Linked DNA regions of Homo sapiens: all the other regions are linked to region 6. The links are contacts of gene promoters, found by promoter capture Hi-C in human tissues and cell types (Jung and others, 2019). All regions are on one chromosome and are shown on one strand. Each heading gives the region's core, a stretch centred on a gene start or on the middle of the fragment in contact. The rest is flanking DNA. Distances are from core to core; before and after follow the strand shown. Region 1 has its middle 250 kb from the start of CA8. Region 2 overlaps SDCBP (syndecan binding protein). Region 3 overlaps LOC105375861 (a long non-coding RNA gene). Region 4 has its middle 520 kb from the start of TOX-DT. Region 5 has its middle 540 kb from the start of TOX-DT. Region 6 holds the start of TOX (thymocyte selection associated high mobility group box). Region 7 has its middle 320 kb from the start of CA8.

Region 1 (3,150 bases), core at 48-2,547, 910 kb after region 6:
AGGCCTTTGATTTCTATCTCTGTGCTCTGTCGGACTACATTCTTCCTAAGAATGGGGTCATGTCTTTTCATTTTTGTTCTTTTACAATACTTACCAAGATGCCTGCATGATCAGCAAATTTTCCTAGATTGGAAGAACAAGCTTCTCAAGATGACATTCCTAAGAATGGATACATAAATAATGGTTCACTTTATTTTTTTAATTAATTTAATATTTTGAGACAGGGTCTCCCTCTGTCTCCCAGGCTGGAGTGTGGTGGCATGATCTTGGCTCTCTGCAACCTCCGCCTCCCAGGTTCAAGCGATTCTCCTGCCTCAGCCTCCTGAGTACCTGGGATTACAGATGTGCACCACCACACCGGCTAATTTTTGTATTTTGAGTAGAGACGAGGTTTCAACATGTTGATCAGGCTGGTCTTGATATCCGGACCTCAGGTGATCCGCCCGCCTTGGCCTCCCAAAGTGCTGGGATTATAGGCATGAGTCACCACACCTGGACAAATAATGGTTCACTTTAGAGCAGTGACTCTTGAGTTGGGACTGGAGAGGGTGTTGGGAGAGAAGGTAGTGCAGTTTGAAAATAAAGACGCATTTTCCCGTTTTCTGGAATTATTTTTAATTATAATAATTATCAGTTCTGGATTTCAAATCTCATAAAAGCAGGTCATGAAATTTATATTTGTTTTATTAAGTTGGAACATAGGAATTCTTTAACTCTCTTTGCCTCGTGTTTTTTACCTGTTAATTGGGAAAAATAATCTTACCTGTAAGTCCTGAGTAGGATAACATATTACCATATTTAGGACATTATCTGGCACATAGTAATCACTCAATAGAAGTAGTTATTATCGTTGTTGTTACTATTGTTGTTATGTTATTATTAGCACTGCTTTCTAAATCTTTACTCCCTTGAACAAATCTCTGGGCTTCAGTTTCTCACTTGTCTGTAGTGAGCATAACCTTTAATTTCCCTTCCAGATATTAACTTCTAAGATTATAAGCCTTTCAATATTTATATATTTCAGATTCACCCAGCACTATATGAGAATTTCAGACCTCTAATATATTCTTCCATATAGCCTGTATATTGACATTATAATATTATGTGTATATTTGTATGTACAGTGTGTGTGGAGTGCAATAAAAAAGTTTGAGCCAACTAAAATTTATTTTTAAACATTCTAAAGCAATAATCCAAACCTTTACAATGTTAAAAATATTTTTGTTTGACTTTAAACTGATAATACATTAAGTTTGAGTGAAATTAAAGTGGTTTCAGAGAAATTTAAGTAAGATGTGTTTTCACCAATATTTATTTTCTTCCTGAGATATTTTGAAGTTCTTACTTCCTATGATTCTATAAACAACACTAAATTTAACCCCAAACCCAATATGTTGCTATAGAGAAGTAATTTTTGATACATCATCACTTTTCTCTTGTTCTTAAAATATGATATTTTCAGCTTATCTATTTTCAAATCATTTCTAAATAATAGTTTGCTGTGGATGATTGATTATAGGAATTTTGCTCATACGGTACCTCCAAAGCATGACTTTTTAAATCACATACTCCTTTTACTTGCAATGTTTAAAGCGAATTTCATATCGTTACCCAATTTATCATTTGGAGATAGAACAAGATATTTACATGGATTCCGTCTATACCTTTGCAACTGAAAAACTATGGCCAAGTCTTATTAAAACCATGCATGCATGGTTATCACAGCTGAATAGCAATAGAGAGGAACCGTTTTAAATATGCATATTCAAGAGCATACACACAGACATCAAAGCCGAGTAGCACATGGTGGCATACAGAGCATGCGCTCTTTTCCGTGCGACATTTCAGGGTCTCTGTGAGAGTGCACTCTATGGGCTGCCTACTGCAGGACAGCACCCTCACCTGCCTCCACCTCTCTGCCCGCCAGCGTTCTCATTCACCTTTGTTCCTTCTCCTCCCCTAGCTTCCCCAGAAACCTGATTTTGGTTTCACTTTAGCAATAGCATGATTTCTGCTGTATTCTAGTACATGAGAATCCCAGCAAATCCCCAAGGTCCAGTCCTTGTCGTTGTCTAGTTCCAAATACTATCTGGGCTCTCTCAACCATTCTCCTGGCTTCTGCTGTCACTTATACAGTAGTGGACTCCAAGACAGGATCTCTTGTCTACACATGCCTTGTAAGCAGCAGATCTGTACAGCCAATAACCTTCAACTTAGGTACTCAACAGGTAAAACAAGTTCCACATTCCAAGAGAAGCTCAATGTCTTTCCTTCAAAACACTATATTGATATCATATGCGCCATCTTGATTAATGACACCAAATTCCTTGATACTCAATTTCCTCATGTATAAACATTAAAAAGCTGAGCTTAGTATTCTGCAAACCTATTAATCTATGAGGTAGGAATCAAATGATAAAGCATCACTGGGAAACAGCAGATCAATGAGCGATGAATGAAGTAGAAGATATCTACAAGGAAGCAGGCAAATCTATGTCAGCTGAGCAGTGCTTAGATGAATAAAACTTAGATAAGCAGAAGAATGTCTGGAGGATAGAGAAGAAGAGATCTGCAAGTTGAATGTCATGAAGAGATGGGGTAGGGAGACTTCAAGTAGGAGTTTAGACTCAGAGGAATAGAGGCTGCAGGCTGGGGAGATTTAGGAAGTGAAGACAGGCTATGTAGGCCCAGACTGGGAAGGGCTTAAAAAGTCTACAGAGTAGCTTGGATTCAATGTCATAGGCAACCAAGTGATATTACAACTTATCAGTAATGAGGCATCACTATGAGAAGCGTGGACGGTAGCATGCAAGATGCTGAGAATGGAAGAAAATAGATGGAACATTTGGCAAGAGTGCTGGCTAGTGCCAACTTGAAATTTAGGGAAGAAAAATAATTATCTGCATGTTTATTTGCAAACCATTTGGCATTTAATATTTCAGTGATTCTGCATGTGACCTTAGATATATCACATCAGAACTACTCTTGACACATTCCAAACAAACACTTTAAAAATCTTTTAGCTTTTCAAAAAGGGGAAACACACATTCAAGACAAACTTTATTTAGCACAATATTGTACCTGAAAAAGGGGAAACACACATTCAAGACAAACTTTATTTAGCACCATATTGTACCTGAAAAAGGAAGT
Region 2 (3,198 bases), core at 276-2,775, 550 kb before region 6:
GGACTAGAAGTTGCGCTGGGTAAGTCAGTGAGTGAGCGGTGAGTGAATGTGAGGCCTAGGACATTATTGTATACTGCTGTAGACTTTATCAATACTCTATACTTGGGCTGCACTAAATTTATTTAAAAATTTTTCTTTCTCGAATTATAAATTAACCTTAGCTTCCTGTAACTTTAATTTTTTAACTTTCTGACTCTTGTAATAACATAGTTTAAAACACAAACATTGTACAGCTGTATAAAATATTTTCTTTCTTTATATCCTGATTCTATAAGCTTTTTTCCTATTTTTTAAATTTTTAGTTTTTAAAAATCGCTTGTAAGTTTGTTAAAAACTGAGACACACACTCACATTAGCCTAGGCCTGCACAGGGTCAGGATCATCAATATCACTGTCTTCCACCTCCACATCATCCCACTGAAAGGTCTTCAGAGGCAGTAACATGCATGGAGTTGTCATTTCCAATGGTAATAGTGCCTTCTGGAATACCTCCTGAAGGACCTGCCTGAGACTGTTTTACAGTTAACTTTTTTTGTAAGTAGAAGGATATACTCTAAAGGGTATAACACAGGAAATACATAAATGAGTAACATAGTCATTTATTATTATCAAGTATTATGTACCATGCATAATTGTAGATGCTATACTTTTTTATATATGACTGGCAGTGCAGTAAGCTTATTTACACCACCATCACCACAAAGTAATGAGTTGTTCTGTGTGACGGCAGCTATGATGTCACTAGACAGTAGGAATTTTTTAGCTCTTTTATAATCTCATGGGACCACTATTGTATATGTGGTTCATCATTGACCAGAACAGGCAGCACATGACTGTATACCATTGTAGCATTAGACAGAATAGGTTCACTGCTCGAAAAATTCTTTAATGCCTGTTCTTCCTTCCCTTCTAGAAACTCCTGGCAACCAATAATTTGCTTTTGCTTTTGTGTTTTCTTTAGCGTCAGGATGTCGCTCTGTTGCCCAGGCTGGAGTACAGTGGCACAGTCATGGTTCACTGCAGCGTCCATCCTCCTGCCACAGCCTTCTAAGTAGCTGGGACTACAGGCATGCACCACCACACCTAGCTAGTTTAAAAAGAAAATTTTTTTTTCCCCCAAAACGGAGTCTGGCTCTGTCACCAGGCTGGAGTGCAGTGGTGCGATCTTGGCTCACTGCAACCTCCTCCTCCTGGGTTCAAGCAATTCTCCCTGCCTCAGCCTCCCGGGTAGCTGGAATTAACAGGCATCCACCACCATGCCCGGCTAATTTTTGTATGTTTACTAGAGACAGGGTTTTGCCATGTTGGCCATGACAAACATGACAACATGCCATGTTGGTCAGTTGAACTCCTGACTTCAGGTGATCTGCCCACCTCAGCCTACCAAAGTGCTGGGATTACAGGCATGAGCCACTGTGCCTGGCCAAAACAATTTTTTGCATAGGCAGGGTTTTCCTATGTTGCCCAGGCTGGTCTTGAACTCCAGGCCTCAAGCAACTCTCCAGCTTCAGCTTCCCAAAGTGCTGGGATTAAAGGCCTCAGCCACTGTGCCTGGCCTAATATTTTATTATCTCCACAATTTTGCATTTTTCAAAATGTCGTATAGTTGGAATCATAAAGTATGTAGCCTTTTGAGATTGGCTTCTTTCACTTAGTAATATCCACTTAAGTTTCCTCCATGTCTTTTCATGTCTTTATAGTTCTTTTTTTTTTCCCAGTGCCGCACAGTATTTTTTTTGTTAGACATGATTCAAGAAGTAATATAACAAGCCACTAGCTCCTTTTAGCTAATCGGTGGTGAAAGAACTTTCAAAGTTCAACACATGTTCAATTTGTGGATTGTTATTTATAATTATAAAGATTTTCATGCTGTATTTTGTTTAAATCTAGAATGTTTAACAAATTATGAAATAATAAATATTAAAGGATGACTCAACAAGTATATCAGAACATATAATTTTAGTACCATTCAAAGCTTTCATAGGCTTTACTTATTTAAACTAAGCTTTCATATCTCCAAGCATCTTTGGGAATACTCTTGACATTGATTTTAGGGCTAGGTTGAGATACTACTATGAACTTCATTTTTAAAATGATACATTTCCAATAAAGTAAAAAGTTGGTAGAGATTGGTCATACAACTTATTACCAAACTTGTCTCTAATGACATATAGCTATTTCAGAAAGTCAGATCTAATTGTAAAGGATAAAGTATTTCCATCAGTGAGATACTTCATATGATGTAGGCCATCAAGACAGCCCTGAGAAGAGGATACTTGAGCATGAGTAGCATTGATAAATGCTAGAGTGTCAGAGTGTGTCAGAGTGATTTTGGCAAGTTTGTTTAACAGTTACAAATTACATTACCTTGTCATCATCGATTTATGTCAGTGATAAACTGTGCTATTTTCATAATTTCTGATATTTTAAAAGTATTTAGCATAAACCCCTTCCTATACTTGCTGCAATGAAGATAAAGATGATTTCAGTGGGACATGCTTAGTATTAATTTTTTAGGTGTTTTTCTGATATGTGACTTTTATATGAATATGGGTAAGGTTTTTTCTTATGCAAATAAAATATTTTTACTTGGACTAATTAGTAAAAGAATAATGAAAATGTAAAATTTATTCATTTTAGAATGCACTTTGAAAATATTAATTTATTGTGGCAGCACTATGAAGTGCTGGTTATAAGACATGTAGAATGGTACTTCTACAATTTTTTTGTGATAGCCTTAAAAGTATTTAGAATATCAAATATAGTTTTGATTTGCAGATTTCCTTTGGAAAATGTATTGCTGATGTGTTTGAAATTAAACTTTCTTACATAAATCTTCATTGTTTTAGTTTCTTTTTGGAAGTACTGGATTTAGCTTATAAATTATATAAGAATATAAAGTAAGTATAGCATATTGTTAGAATTTTCTTCTTTTCTTTTTCAGGCTCAAACTGCTTTTTCTGCAAACCCTGCCAATCCAGCAATTTTGTCAGAAGCTTCTGCTCCTATCCCTCACGATGGAAGTAGGTTTATACTTTGAGTTCATTCTCTGTGAACAGAAATATTGTTATCTTCTTTTGCTCATATAAGGAATCCAAGATTTTTTTTTGGACAGGCTGCATAAAATTGGTAGTTAAGCTCAAATAGTTATGAATAAGAAAAAAAAGTTTACTTCAAAAAATAACCCTTTTTCTAATT
Region 3 (3,245 bases), core at 611-3,110, 940 kb after region 6:
TTTACCAAAGAGTTCTCCTTCGACCTGGCTAGGAGTTTATTTTTTACTTTGTATGGAAATTCTACAGGGAGCCTAATAGCACAGAATGGAGCCCCAGTATCATTTGTAATATTCAACTGCAACATGGATTTTATTTTATGCCTCCTTCTAAATAAGTCTTTTCTAAATATATTTTTGAGGACTGACGGCACATAAAAGGGAGCTATTAAGGAGAACCATGGGGTGTCTGTGATGGGAAGGACTGATTATCCCTGACAGCCTCCAACTTTGAATTCCTGGAAAGGCAAACCACGAATATTTCAGTGAGCCAAGCATGCAGATACATTTAATGCCACATTGCCCTTCTACCCTTTTCCTCCTCTTTTCCTCTCCCTGGTTTCCCAGCCTCTTCTAAAATGGTGTGTTTATTATGAAGTGTTCTTGGAAGTTTTCTTATGTCATCTGAATCAATATAATATCAGACCTATCAAGATCTATTTTTAAAGGTAAGCTTGTTTGGTCCTCTAGCGGCCTCCTAATTAGAACGCACTATATTTATGTATATGCTTCTTTGCATTGCATTAACAGGATACTCTGGGAAAAGCTTCATGCTTTCAAAACACTGAATTTCAGGGAGGTCCTCGGCAAAATCATGAAACGAATTTGAATCTTACCCTTCGTTCAGGTTTCAGTCTGTGACCTTGGACCCAGATTCCATGAATAGAACATTGTCCTCGCAGGGCAGAGGCTCAATAACTGGACATTTTCTGGGTCCCTGAATTTGTACAATGAGATATCAACTCCAATCTGTGAGCACAATGCTCCAGTGACTGCCAGGAATGGCTGCAATATTGATGCCTTTCAATGTAGATCACATCATTCACCGAGCAGAGCTCAATAAAATGATACTGTAGTTAACAAGTTTTATAACACAAAGTTACTTTAAAACATGGAACTAATCAGAGAGAAGCCTGTTTATGCGTGTCAGAGCCACATTTAATTGTCAATAAATAAACAAAGATTTGCTTCACCTATTGTCATGTATATCAAGTAAGTCATTAATCTAAACTAATGAAGCTTAAGATATATGACAGACAGTTTTTATGGAGCGCCTTCTTAATGATATGTTTGCTTTTCATTTCAATGCCAAGAGAGCCCATTATCAAGAAAGCAGCACATTATGGTCCAAACACATTGAAATCTACAGCACTACTCTTTGTTCGGAGTTCACAATAAGCCGCACTTGCACTTACATATTCATGTACCCTCTGAGATGAAAAGCGTTAGTTAGAAATGAATACGGGTGGGGTGGGGGGAGCAGGGACAATGCATCCAAGGCTTCTGCTCTGTTAAGAGGTTTCCCCCCGCTTTGGATTTTTAAGCTCACCTGGAAAGAAAAAGGAGACTAAATCCAGCCCAATTCATGCCCACATCAATTTTGAAAAATGTGAGTGAATATGTATCATAAACACAGTGAGTCCTAATCATTAAAGAACATCCTGAATCTCTGAAGAACACAAACCCAGGATGCCAAGCTGCAAACAAATAACTACTAGATAATAGAAGCAAGTATTCTACAATTATTTTAATGGGCATGTTAGTTCTCAAGCTTCCATGGTTTTCAAAGAGAAAGTAATTATTTCTTACTCTGCTTCTATTTTGGAAGAGAATAATGTGGACAAGTTAACATCTATCAAACCATAATGATTCCCAACCTGGTGACATGAAAAACTCAGATTAGCTGACCCTTTGGGCTAATGCCACCAAGAGATTCTGCTGCAGGCGCCAAAGACCAAATGAAAGATTCAGTCATGTTGCAGTTTTATTTACTTAAATCTGGAGAAATATGCCTAGCGTCGAACCAGATTACAAGAGGATACAATACATCTATGTGTAGAGCAGGGCAAAAGACTGATTGAATATGGTCAGGGATCTTGGCTATCTTGTTCATCAATGCATTTCCAGAACCTTCCACAGTCCCTGGCTCGTTGTGGGCACATGGTGAATATTTGCTAAGTCTGTGGGAAAAAATCTATGATATAAGGAACAGAAGGATTTTAAAAAGCTTTCCTAGAAATATCCTGCTCTTTTTTCTCTTCCCATTCTGCTACTTACTTCAGTATAAACCGGAAGTAAGCTCTCCACTGTCAAATGTTTTCTCAGTCTGGGCCCTTCTGAAGTTTTAAGTCCATTCCTTCTTGACTTCCCTACTTGCTCAAACCAAAGCAAAATCCAATTCATTCCTTCAAGAGAAAGTCACGGAGCATACAACAAATCACATGGAGATGTGGGCTCTTATAGAGCTCAGGGTCCATATCTGGTTAATTGCAAAACCTTGTAACCAGCACTTTAGTGAGCAAAGTCCAAAATGCCACAGGAGCACAGATTGGAAGGTTCCAGGGCACATGTCATATGAACTCAGCCCAGAAGGGTGACCCAGCTTCTGACAGGCACATGAGTGGGTGTTCCCAGAAGAGTAGAAAGAGCAAATTAATAGAGCACCAACCGTTACAGCACCAGCCATCTGTTCCAGTGAGTCCAAGCACTGGGTATCATGAAATGAGACAAATAAAGGTTATCAAGACAGGTTGTAATTAATTATATCATAACTATTATTAACACTTATTGAGCACCTACTATATGCTTGGCACAGGCACTGACCTCTACCCATAAACCTTATTTTCTGAGTAACTGACTTCTCCCAAGTAACAAGACTGTACCTACCCACCTGGACTCAAAGCCATTCTTCTGGGAGTTCAGAGCTCAGGCAATTAATCAAAATTATTTTTATAAATGTATGCCCTGGACACTTTTAGTAAAACTTCCCCAGACTGCCACAAACCTTCTCTTAGGCCTGTGTGCAGGAAAAGAAGAGAATGTTGAGAAGGGAGATAAAAATTAAGGCAGAGCTCATTTTTACACTCACTAGGGTTTTTATGAAGAAAGTTAAAGTAAGAGGTGACCAAGTTGGCTGTATCAGGACAAGGTTGGCTTCAGGGAAGTGGTATTTTTGTGTTGTTTCCAGAGGAACCATGTATGTCCCAGGGTGCTCAGTGCCATTTCAGGTGTTCATGTGAAAGTAGGATCCTAAGACTGGAAGTAATAACAAAAAGTAAACATCAAAAACATTTAACATCCCCTGTTCCCTCTAGCTCAGACTATGCCATGGGCCTCCTGGACAGAGAGAGACATCCCCTTTCTTAGCACTCTAGAAAAGTGTCCTATATCCTTTTTCAATCATTTATTTATTCCAGGTCATCTCAAAC
Region 4 (3,032 bases), core at 11-2,510, 520 kb after region 6:
AACTTGAAAATGAAAAATCATTTGCCAAAACCCAAATTTCCTTTTCTTCATTGATCTTCTATTGCCCAAGATACTTTGGAAATATGAATCAAGGTTTCTTTTCTTTTTAAAACAAACCAACCACCCTAATTATAATAAGCAGATGAAACTTAGTGGCAACAAAAGTAATATTTGATGGGAATGAAATCTTCCATCTTGAGTACATATTTTTAGAACAGTAGATTATTGGGTTTACATTATATGCTATAGGAGGCTCTTCATTTTGATATTTGATGAAACACATGTAACTGTTAATAAACTTTCTTGGACTCTACATTGGAAATGGTATATATTTTTGACATGGAACTTAGGAAGAAATAGAGGGATATATGATTGAGAACTAATCATTTTCAGATTCTAATAACACTATTAGCTTTATTTTTCTAAGCACTTAGCTTCAGTTTTAATACTGAATCTTGATTTTTTATTGTTGGGATTCTGGATGATGATGCTTCTGACATCTTAGGTTAAAAATTTCAAACAATTTTTTTTTTTTTTAAGACGGAGTCTCACTCTGTCACCCAGGCTGGAGTGCAGTGGCATGATCTTGGCTTACTGTAAGCTCCGCCTCCCAGGTTCACGCCATTCTCCTGCCTCAGCCTCCCGAGTAGCTGGGACTACAGGCGCTGGCCACCACGCCTGGCTAATTTTTTTGTATTTTTAGTAGAGATGGGGTTTCACTGTGTTAGCCAGGAAGGTCTCGATCTCCTGACCTCGTGATCCACCCGCCTCGGCCTCCCAAAGTACTGGGATTACAGGCGTGAGCCACCATGCCCGGCCCAAACAATATTTTTTTAAAAAACGTTTTTCTTGTGTACTTAAGAAGGTAACTGTGGTTTTCAGCATCATTCTCTTATGACAAATGAGTACCATTCTATTGTTAATAACTTGGTACCTATTGAATTTGTGATTCTTTTTAAGTGATCTGTAAAGGGAATGTTGGCATAATTTTACAATACTTTAAGAGGATAGTAAACCACACATAACCATTATTGTAAATAAACTAAAAATATAAAAATTAGCTCTTGGAGATTGATAGAGTAGAAAATATTTACACATTGTACATATTCCTAGCAAATGTTGAACTTCCCATATTAAAATATTTTAAGAGGATAGTAAACCACACATAGCCATTATTGTAAGTAAACTAAAAATATAAAAATTAGCTCTTGTGAAATCGATAGAGTAGAAAATATTTACACTTTGTACATATTCCTTGCAAATGTTAAAATTCCCTATATTATTAAGTATTGGCTACAACCAATCAGCTAGAGAAGATAACTTTTTAAATTAACTACTTAGACAAACTATAATCCAATCCTAATTACAATTGAAGTGAAATCAAAATTCAAAAGAAAATGCAATACCAAAATAACATTTGGAAATTCAAAAGTGATGAACAAATGTCAAAAAAATTAAAAATTCCAAATAAAATGAAAAGTCAAAGGAAAACTTACTTTCTTTACAATCTCACTTTTAGAATTTTTCAGATAGAAATTATTAAGCAGAAATAAAAGTTCATGTGAAAAAGGACATCCATTGCGAAAATATATAGCAAAAACTGGAAAATGATCCAATTGTCCAACAATATTGAATGCTTATGTAAATTATGGCATCTAATTTCAGCAGATCATTATGCACTCAGTAAAATATTTAAATTATTCAAAATTGTATGTACCTTGTGTTATTATGTATTTGCATTTGGAAAAACTAGGAGTAATTCAATTAAAATGAAAACATAAAAAAGAATTTTTAGAAAAAATTATAGGTACAGTTTTCTTAAAAATCCTATTATCACGTGGTCTTTAGTACCTTAAAATGCTAACCTTGAAAAACTGCTTTTATTGAAAAATCTTACCATAAAGTAGCAGAAGTTTTATATTATCTAGCAAGTATAGAACTTCTTGCATTCAGAATTATCTAATTTAAAATTAGATGATATTTCTAAAGTTCATTGTAAAGCAGTTGTTTAAAACATGGAAAAAATGCATTTCCTTGTGAAATGATATATTAATAAGTAGAAATATTGTACAATTACCATGGCAAGAGAAGAAACACTGTTGTAAAAATGATTAAAACAGGTTTTGACATGAGAGAAATTTTTTTCTCCTTAACGTTGGAGAACTTATCTTTACCACACTTCACCAAAGAAGTTGTACAGATGGCAAATTAACATATGAAAAGATGCTACACATCGTATGTCATCAGGGAAATAGAAATTAAAACAACAATGAGATACCACTACACATCTACCAGAATGGCCAAAATTCTCTGACTGACAAACACCAAATGCTGGTGAGAATGTGGAGCAACAGGAACTCTCATTCATTGCTGATGGAAATGCAAATTGTACAGCCATTTTGAAAGACAGTTTGACAGTTTCTTATGTCCTCACAAAAACCTGCACATGAATGTTTCTAGCAGGTTTATTCATAATTGCTAAAGCTTGAAAGCAACCAATTTGTCCTTCAGTAAGTGAATGGATTAATAAACTGTAATACATTCAGACAATAGAATATTATTCAGCAGTAAAAAGAAATGAGCTATCAAGCTATAAAAAGACACAGAGGAACCTTAAATGCATATTACTAAGTGAAAGAAGACAATCTGAAAAAAACTACATACTGTATGATTCCAATGTATAAGATTCTGAAAAAGGAAATCTATGAAGACACTAAAAAAAAATCAGTGGTTGCCAGGGGTTTGGGGAAAGGGAGGGAGGAATAGGCAGAGCATAGGGGATTTCTACGGCAGTGAAACTACTCTATATAATACCATAGTCGTGAATACATATTACTCTGCATTTTCCAAACCCATAGGATGTATGACACCAAGAGTGAACATTATTGATAACTGTGGACTTTGGGTGATAATGATGTGTCAGTATAATGATGTGTCAGGGTAGGTTCATTAGTTGTAACAAACATGCTGCCTTGGTGAGGGATGTTACTGAAGGGGGAGTCTATGCATGTGTCAGGCATAAGGTATATAAG
Region 5 (2,806 bases), core at 286-2,785, 540 kb after region 6:
TTTTATTTGAAAAGCAAAGACGATGATGGATTAAAGCAGATGTAGAGTGTTTGCAGTTATATAAGACTATTAGGGACCCTGCTTGTTCTGGTTTTTGTAATTTGTCCATGTCCTACTTTATATAACTCAATCCATTGTGAGCCAAACATGAAATAAGTGAATACAGTATTCCATATTTCACTTTGTCAGCAAATTTAAAAAAAAAGGTAGAACAAACACAATAGTCATCATGGTTCTTGAATACAGAACGAAGCATTTTTCAAATCGCAGGGACCTGTAAGAAAAAGAAGGTTAAGGAGATTTTTCTTTAAACAATGAGCAGATGTGTTTGTTACTGTTGATGGACAAGCTTATCCATTTACTTCAATTAATAACAAGAGTGAACCCATCAATACGTAAGCTTGTCCTGATGCTTTGAATTTTTTTCCTATTTGACAGGTAATAGTGGGGCTGGGAAAATGTCACAACAATTTAGTCCTGCCTCACTGGCTTTAACTAGTTCAGTGACAATGGGAATGCATCTTGCTAAGATTCCTTATGATTCATAATAACGCTGCATCTGTCGACCCTTACAGAGGGTTTAAAATCTGCGACAATTAATGGCATAAAATCAAATCTTTTCATGGGTTATTCATTTGGGCACTAAGTAAAATCAAGTTAAAATATTAATGAACAGTATGAAAATGTGGAAACTTTCTTTAGGAACCTGTCTTTTCACATTGAGTCATAAATGAAACCAACTATGCTTGACAAAGAAAGGCCATTTCATCATATGGTCAAGCTATTAAACCCTTCCTATGTTCTAAAAGATCTTTTCTAAAATCTAACAGATTTTGCCAGAGAAACCCTAGTGAAAGCCAATGATCTCACAAATTTTAGCATATTAGAGCAAATTATGCCTCCAGCAATATTGACAATGGTTACCAAAATATAATCATATCAGTATATTGCTTCAGTGCTAGCTGAGCCAATAAATAAATGTTTTCCTTTGAACAGTAAAGCTTGAATGATTAATAACTACATGGAATGGGGAGGGGGAAATTGGTATTTTTTTTAGAGGAAAATGAAGGCCATTTATACTATTCCGGTGGCAAAGGGTTTAGTACAGGAACCAGTCTCACATGCTCCATAGAGGTGTGGCAGAACTCGGAGAATGCTCAGAGTGCATGGGCGAATAACATGCTTTTTCAGAGCAGGAGCAACATATTCACATCTGTCTCCACAGCATCTAGCACAACCCCTCTAACACATAGGGAACTGGACATGCATTTTCTAGCAAGCAACATTCTTCTAGACCACTCCCAGCAATCCAGTTAACCAAATGTCTCTAAGACTAAATGCATGAAATGTAAGGCTGGTAGGAGGCTTAGAGGACAGCCTTACTTAGCTCTCCCTAAAACTTATCTTCTCACAACTGTGCAGTCCCTGCCGAATTCTGTGTTTTCACCTCCATGAGGCTATCCCTGATACCCCTGAGTACCCCAAAAATGAATCACATATTCCCTCGTCTCTTTTACATTTGTGCCTGTATAACAGAGCACTGATTGGGTTAATTCTGTTTGTCTCTGTAACCCCACTTGAGGTCTACAGACGCTTTTTCCTATTTATCTTTGAATCATCTGATTTTAGAAACCAGCATGTCTCTAGTCCTGAGTAAATGTTTGAATTGTGTCGAATTGTTGATGCCAAGCCTAAATTCTTTAACCAAACTTGTCACAGGAGAGCTAAAGTTTCTAATTTTGCTTTTAATTGGCACATAATAATTGTACATATTTATGGGGTACAGTGTGATGTCTCAACACATGTACACACTGTAGAAATCAAGTCAGAGTATTTAGCAGATCCATCACCTCATGCATTTATCATCTATTTGTCTTAAAAACATTCAAAACACTCTTCTTCCAGTATATTTCTTACTCTGAAATGTCCAATAAAATATGTTGCCCAGAGATGGGACAAAATAGAGTTAAAACAACTGTTATAGGTCAAATTGTGTTCCACTGACCACCTCTGCAATTAAAAAAACTCTTATGTTAAAGCCTGAATCTGTAGTACCTCAAGATGTGTCTTTATTTGGCAACAAGATCTTTGTAGACAAAGATCAAGCTAAAATGAGATCATTAGGAGAGGCCCTTATCCCATATGACTGGTGTCCTTACAAGAAGGGAAAATTTGGACACAGGCACATACAGAGAGAAGATGACATAAAAACTCAGGGAGAAATGGCCATTTCCAAGCCAAACAGAGGGGCTTAGAGTTGACTATTCTACCACAGCCTTCAGAAGGAGCTCACTCTGCCAACACCTTAATCTTAGACATCAATCCTTCAGAATTACGAGACAATACACTTCTGTTGTTGAAACTACCCAGTTTGTGATACTTTGTTATAGCAGCCCTTGCCAACTAAGACAAGTATCCAATTTCTTTGGCCCATTAAAAAGAAAAGCTAGAGAGAAAGTAGTTTGTAATGGCATGATGGCATTGTCAGGGAAAGTAGATAATACAAGGACTCATATATGACCTCTACAGAATATTATAAAATAGAAAAGCATGCATTCTTCCCTCCTATAGAAAAACATTATCTTCATGCTATTTCATGCAATTGCTATCTGGCACTAGCTCAGTGTACAAATGTTTTGTGTAATATGAAAATGGATCTTCAAGTAGGATGGAAAATTACATTTGTTATAATCAATCAACCTGCTCTGAAAAATAGGTTATTAAAAATGCCTTCATTTGATTACCTGGGTGAAAATATAAATGGAAAATAAAAATTCTAAATGCAGTGTAAGTATTGATAATGTGA
Region 6 (3,234 bases), core at 409-2,908:
TCTCACACTGGACACAGCATCGAGGAGCTTCTCCACGGGGAAGTGTGTGTGTGAGAGCCTGCCTGTGTGTCAACACTGTCCAAGACTCGGAGCTGCGACTCGGTCGCGTGGTGCGGAGTCCAGGGCTGAGAAGGCAGCGCACTAAATATCTCTGTATCAGGTAAAAAAGCCGTTTGGTGATGACTCGCCACCAGGCAAATGTTGGGAGTCCCAACGATTTTTCCCGTGGAATGCACCGAGGGTCGCCATGGATGTGCCTGCAGGGGCTGTGAGTATCAGGCAGATTTATCACCAAGCGAGAGTTGGGCGTCTAAAAGGCCCGCCCAGCGTTTTAGAGAACTCAATTCTCTCTGCCAACGTTCATCCAACGGGACTGCTTAGACACGTCCAACTAGCCCTAGGCGTGGGCAGTCGTGCCCCTGCGACCACTCTGGGGGACCGGTCCCTGCGTGTCCTCCCTCTCTGGGATGAGAGAGTTCGAGAAGCCGGGAGAGTAACCCCCTCCCTCGTACCCCCTGACTGTCCTATAGGTGGACCCAGCCGAACTCCGCAGCAGCCCAGGCCAGCGCCCCACCTCCGGGTCACCGGCATGATCCGCCTCTCCCCGGGCCCCCGCGGCCCTGGCACCCGAGGTCAGCGGGCCGTGGGTACAGCTCAGCCGCGGACCCTGCTCCGCGAGTGCGGGAGCTTTGGACTTGAACGCGACGTGCTCGCCCGGCTCCCAACAAACTTGCAATTTCCGCGCGCACCCCTTAAACAGGAACTGTTCCCCAAACCTTGACCCAGCTACCCCGCTGTGCTCTGGCCCGCGGACCTGTGTCCGAACCCGGGCTCGGCTGCCGGAACCGGTTTGAGAAAACAAAAGAGTTGTGGGGCAGTTTTCCCTGTGGGGGGCAGGGGCGCCTCCCAGGTCCCTGCACCCCGACTCCCGGCTGCTCCCCTGGCAACTAATCCGGAGAAGGGAAGTGGTGCCACGAGCCCCCACTGCCCGGGGAGGGAGGGAGAGAGAAGGGGGAACTGGGAAATAAACTGAATTCTCTTACTCTGCCTCCGTTCCTGGACCCCAGACACACCCCCAAAGTATTCCACGGTTTTCTCTTATTATTTTTTTAAACGCCCCCCGGCAAACCTAGGCAGGGATCCTTAGCCGCGAACAGCAGGAAGGAAAGAATCCGAGCAAATCGTGTCACTTTCCGCACAATCGCGGTGTTTGGCAAGCCCCCGGAGCTACTCCACAATATTTACTACCCAAGCGCACGCAGGCTGCAGCGGGCTGCGAGCCGAGCGCGCCCGGGACCGGCCTCCGCCAAGCCGGCCCCGCCGCGGCCCGGCCACCGCCGCTCCCCTCCCAGGATCAAGCAGCAAGAACACGGTGGAAACAAAAGCAGAGCGTTCACCTTGTTGCAATAGTAGGGGTCCAGGCAGGGAGAAGGTCCCAGACAGGGAGCGTCGGGCGCAGCGGCGGGCTGGGCTGGAGGTGGATAAAATCTTACGTCCATTTCACTCTCACATCAAGCAACTCCTTTTCTTTTTCCTTTTTTAAAAAAAAGTGTTCAGCAAAACAAGCTTAGACGGAACAGAGTGAGGTGTCTGGGCTCAGGAGTAAAAGAAACACCTTCCTTCCCTCACATCCGTTTGTGGTTTGTTTAAGAAGAAGAGGAAAAAAAAAAAAAAGAGGGGGGAAAAGCGCTCAACTCTCCCCCAAGCCGCGGCGCGCACCCGTCGGCGCCGAGCGCGCAGCCTGCTCCACCGCCGCCTCTTGGTCCCGCCGCCGCCGCTGCCGCCGCCGCCGGGCAGGTAACTTCATGCGCTCATTGTCCCCCCCGCCCGCCCCCCCATCCCCGCCTCCCGCGCCCCTCGCAGCCCGGCACACGCGCTCGGGCTCTAGGTACTGGGCGTTTTATTGGAGATTCTGAGTTGTTCTGCTTGTAGTTTATTTTCTCCACCTTGGAGGCCCGGGATGTGGGGGGTGGGGGGGTGGGGCGGGGATCCAGAAGGGACAGGGCGGGAGGGGGGCGAGCGTCCCGGGCCGGGCGGGGTAGGGAGCGCGGCCGGACGCGGGCTCGTCAAGGCCCAATGGCTGCTGTTCGGAACCAGAGGCCGGGGACCGGAGAAAGGAGGAGCGGAGAAGGAGAAGGAGGAGAGCACGGCCTGGCTGGGACAGAAGCGGTGGGACCCTGGGAGGCCTCCGCTGTGCCCGTGCCGCGCTCCTCGGGACCAGCGCGTCGCACACAAAGGGGCTGCCGAGCCAGAGCCACCAGCGGCCTCAGGGCACCGTGGGGAGCGCGCAGCTAGGGGGCGCTGTGGCGCACCCCGCCCCGCAGCCCCGCCCCCGGCCCTCCCCGGCCCCACCCCACTCCCACCGCCCTCTCCGCGGCCGTCCCCACCCCTATCTCCGCGACCCCCACTCCTCCTCGGCTGTTCCCCAACCCTGTCACTGTGCTCCCCTCCCTACTCCCGGCCCGTAGTGGAGGTGACTTTCCTGCGCAGCGCCGCTTCTGAGGGCGGAGAACCCACAGGGAGTGCGACCCCTTTGCACGCTGTGAGTGGGCAACTGTCCGAGGGACTCGAGCCGATCGAAGGGTGAGGACCAGCTCGCCTGGGGGTGGACGGCCTGGAAAAGCCGCCCCTCTTTGGCTTCCCTCTGCCGCCTGCAGCCCGCACCCCTCCGAGATTCGTGCCCCACTGGACGGTTTGCGAAGGCTGAGGCTGCCTTGGGGACTCACAAAAGACCACAGGGGTGATTCGAAGTGTAAATAGGGAAACAATCATCAGCACACAATCCGGCTAAAGGGATAACATATGAGTTTGCTTGTTGTCCTTCATGGGATTCTTCTCTTTTTATAGCTGGACGCCCTATAGGGCTCTTGGCAGTCCACGAAAGACCTGGAGTCCGCCTCCCCATTTCTCCGGTCGGTGAGTGGCAGGAGGAAATCGCCAAACATGTTTTCCCGCTTTGCCTCCCCAACTCGGAAACTTGCAACTTGCCGTGTCCTGGAGGTTGAGACAATTTGGGGTCTCTTGGCTGCCGTCCAACAGATTTATCTCTGAGGGCAGTGTCCTTGGTGAGAGGTCCAAGTAGGTGTGGGCGACATTGTCCTCCATCTCATGAGGGAGCAGCCCTGCACACTAGGGCCCAAAACTCTGCGAAGGAGCTTGGAAGTTCTTCATCCGTTCCACTTGTTTTGCTACTCCACACACCCTTCTAGGACATGTTGATTGCCAACTGCTCTG
Region 7 (2,786 bases), core at 61-2,560, 840 kb after region 6:
TCTGGAACTTCTCTAAATTCTTCACATTTTTTTGTCTTCTGAACTTCTGAATGTGACCGTCTACTGAAGTAAGGTAAATGTGTAGTTTTATCTATGTATGTAAAATACAATTTTATACATTTTATTAATAAATTCTATTTTTAGTTTTATTTTTCAGTGTCATCCTTATACAAAACCTCCTCCTCCACTTAGTAACAGCTGTTTGGGGTCATAAACTTTGTTTTGTTTAATGGTTAGGAAGGTTTGCCTCAAGCAAGGTCTCCCATCTTGGGCCCAGTCAATAGGTATATTTGTTCCTAAGGAAAAGGAAACATTTACTCTGATTATCTTTAAAGGGGATATATAAAGCTTACATATTTCCCCTACAATTACACCTTTGATCATATTGCCTAAAATTGACAATTGTGTTTTACAATTGGAACAGTGGAGTTAATTAAGTAAACCCTAGGATAAATAGAAGAATCTAAACAAGGTAGTGAATATTTAATCTGATTCCAACTGTAGCGAAGCACCTTTCTAAGAATAGGAAGTTGTACATTACATAGCAAAGGAGATTTTCATTCATTTTTGTTGGTGTCATTTTGTGACCACACGGCCTAATTTCCAAATTGCTTCAGCTAACTTTGTCATGCTAAATAGCTGGAGCAATTATAAATTAAATAATCAGGAGAAACTCAATTTCTGGTTTCCACAGGGAAATTCTAAATTCAGAAATTTGAAGTGGAAGTTGAAAACGTAGCTACTATGAGTCACTCTGAAGTTTCTGATGCCCTTAAATCTATGTAAAGGCCATGCTTTTTTTTTTTTAAGAAGAAAGAAAAGAAATGGGAGTCAAAGTATAGTCTTACTCATTGCTGATTCTAAAGAAATTCTCCTTTAGAAAATTTCCAAAACATGTTTTTTTTTAATTTTTTAAACAATAAGAGCATTCTGAAAGCTCTAAGAAAGAGAACAAACAGATCTTTGAGAATTAGTTCAACTTATATACCTTTTTTTTTGTAATTAAGAACAAACTAAAGCTAAATGCATTGGTTAGTTTCTTAACATGAAATTATGTATGAACCATGTATAAAATATATTTAAGTGGATAATTTGGTATTTTTACCTTTTTCACCTATACATAAGAACAAATATTTAAAACAAATATTAGTCATAAAAATGATAACCTAACATGATGCTATGAAATAATTCATCTGCAAGGAACTGCAAGAATGAAAAACTCTATCACTAATAAATAGTAGATGGTAAAGCAAGCAGCCATGGTCAATAGTAAGAAAGTACCATTATTACTAAATGGTACTATATGCTCATAACGCATGTCATTTGTTATATATTCATTGATCCAATAAAAATTTATGGAATTCCTATTAAGAAATCTAGCCAGGATGCAAGATAGGAATGTAAACAAATAAGCACAGTGTAATAGGTACAATAGCAAAGGATGTTTCACATGATGAGAAATAAAATGATTTTAACTGAAGACATAGGCAAAGCCTGAGAGAGAAGGCCATCTTTGTTCTGAGCCTTGATAAATGAATTGGATTCATCATGCATTTCTTCTGCACTCTAGACAGAGGTAAAGAGGTGTTACAATCTCAACCCAAGTGTCCAAATCTAACCCCACTTCAGAAAAACTCAAGATACTTTTAAAGACTTTAGCTTTCTTTCCTGAAAAGTTTTGATTCAGTACATCTAGAAAGGGACCCAAGAATTTGTATTTATTTCTAAACTCCCAGGTGATATTATGTGAAGTTTGGTGTGAATTGGGTAGGAGGTGGGAATGGGCAGTAAATTTTGTCGTGAAGATGTACTGGCCCTCATTTGTGAATACCTTTTTTTCTAAAAGACAATCTAAAGCAGTTTTCTCAACCTTTCATGTGCATATGAATCACCCCCTGGTAAAGACAAATTCTGATTCAGTAGGAGACTGCATTTCTAGCGAGCTCCCAAGTTGTACTGATGCTGCTGGTCTACGGACCATACTTTGCTGCTCCAGTTTGATAAATTGACAGGTAAAAGGGCACAACAAAAATTAAGAATGTAAGTGTAGGAAGGTAGAGGAAACACCCCTGGTTTCCAAGTTGATGGGGAGACACTGTTGAATGTTTAGAATTTTTAATACTCTCTGGTCTTGGTGTATCTTGGATATTCAGGAGGGAAATAAGTTGCTTTTATTAACTTCACAAATTAACTTTCTACTAAATAGAGAATAGTGCAATGGTAAAAACTATGTATTCTGAAGTCCAATTGAATGGCTTCAAATTCTACCTTCATATTTTGATAGCTATGATAGTGTGAGCAAATAATAATAATAATAATAATCTGCTCGTACCACATTTCCTTATTTGTAAAGTGGAGATAATAAGAGTACTTACCTCTCCAGAGATGGGGAGGATTACTAGTTAACATATGGAAAGCGTGAAGAGCATGTTCTGGCCCAGTCAAGCAATATAACAACATCTGCCACTTTCTTATCTTTGTTTGTTTTCACAGATATCAATATGAGGTCATATTGAGAACTGAAAGAAATGTTCAACTTGTTATTTTTCTCACAACTCCCTTGGCTTTCTGGTAAATCTGGCTTTCAACCCTGTTCCTTTTTTTTTTTTTTTTTTTTTTTTTTGAGACAAAGCTTCGCTCTTGTTGCTCAGGTTGGATGGAGTGCAACGGCTCGATCTCGGCTCACTGCAACCTCCGCCTCCTGGGTTCAAGCAATTCTCCTGCCTCAGCCTCCTGAGTAGCTGGGATTACAGGCATGCACCACCACACTCGGCTAATTTTTTGTA

What was found. The method cuts DNA at HindIII sites, captures the fragments that hold promoters and counts their contacts. A contact is called where the count stands out against the background at its distance.
Region 1: a contact is called between a fragment that was not itself captured here and the fragment with the promoter of TOX in region 6, in 2 of the 25 tissues and cell types used here (lymphoblastoid cells and mesendoderm cells).
Region 2: a fragment that was not itself captured here is called in contact with the fragment with the promoter of TOX in region 6 in 1 of the 25 tissues and cell types used here (IMR-90 fibroblasts).
Region 3: a contact is called between a fragment that was not itself captured here and the fragment with the promoter of TOX in region 6, in 2 of the 25 tissues and cell types used here (IMR-90 fibroblasts and lymphoblastoid cells).
Region 4: a contact is called between a fragment that was not itself captured here and the fragment with the promoter of TOX in region 6, in 1 of the 25 tissues and cell types used here (dorsolateral prefrontal cortex).
Region 5: a fragment that was not itself captured here is called in contact with the fragment with the promoter of TOX in region 6 in 3 of the 25 tissues and cell types used here (dorsolateral prefrontal cortex, lymphoblastoid cells and mesendoderm cells).
Region 7: a contact is called between a fragment that was not itself captured here and the fragment with the promoter of TOX in region 6, in 3 of the 25 tissues and cell types used here (heart left ventricle, lymphoblastoid cells and spleen).

Annotation. Positions count from the first base shown.
Region 1 is chr8:60,028,094-60,031,243 of GRCh38, forward strand. No RefSeq gene overlaps it. Among named protein-coding and RNA genes, the nearest start is that of CA8, 250 kb to the right of the region's middle. The HindIII fragment of the contact is 5,129 bases long and covers 1-3,150 here.
Region 2 is chr8:58,567,943-58,571,140 of GRCh38, forward strand. It overlaps SDCBP (syndecan binding protein), which reads left to right. Exons shown (of 9, transcript NM_005625.4): 3 at 2,945-3,023. Among named protein-coding and RNA genes, the nearest start is that of SDCBP, 16 kb to the left of the region's middle. The HindIII fragment of the contact is 3,749 bases long and covers 1-3,198 here.
Region 3 is chr8:60,059,221-60,062,465 of GRCh38, forward strand. The region is part of intron 2 of LOC105375861 (a long non-coding RNA gene); the gene reads left to right. Among named protein-coding and RNA genes, the nearest start is that of CA8, 220 kb to the right of the region's middle. The HindIII fragment of the contact is 4,828 bases long and covers 1-3,245 here.
Region 4 is chr8:59,637,985-59,641,016 of GRCh38, forward strand. No RefSeq gene overlaps it. Among named protein-coding and RNA genes, the nearest start is that of TOX-DT, 520 kb to the left of the region's middle. The HindIII fragment of the contact is 6,113 bases long and covers 1-3,032 here.
Region 5 is chr8:59,658,942-59,661,747 of GRCh38, forward strand. No RefSeq gene overlaps it. Among named protein-coding and RNA genes, the nearest start is that of TOX-DT, 540 kb to the left of the region's middle. The HindIII fragment of the contact is 3,682 bases long and covers 1-2,806 here.
Region 6 is chr8:59,117,489-59,120,722 of GRCh38, forward strand. TOX (thymocyte selection associated high mobility group box) reads right to left here and starts at 1,659. Exons shown (of 9, transcript NM_014729.3): 1 at 1,398-1,659. The coding sequence starts at 1,499. It overlaps TOX-DT (TOX divergent transcript), which reads left to right and starts at 1,722. Exons shown (of 3, transcript NR_149031.1): 1 at 1,722-1,797; 2 at 2,469-2,583; 3 at 2,848-3,234. RefSeq lists a silencer at 2,184-2,403. The HindIII fragment of the contact is 9,409 bases long and covers 53-3,234 here.
Region 7 is chr8:59,958,148-59,960,933 of GRCh38, forward strand. No RefSeq gene overlaps it. Among named protein-coding and RNA genes, the nearest start is that of CA8, 320 kb to the right of the region's middle. The HindIII fragment of the contact is 3,620 bases long and covers 1-2,786 here.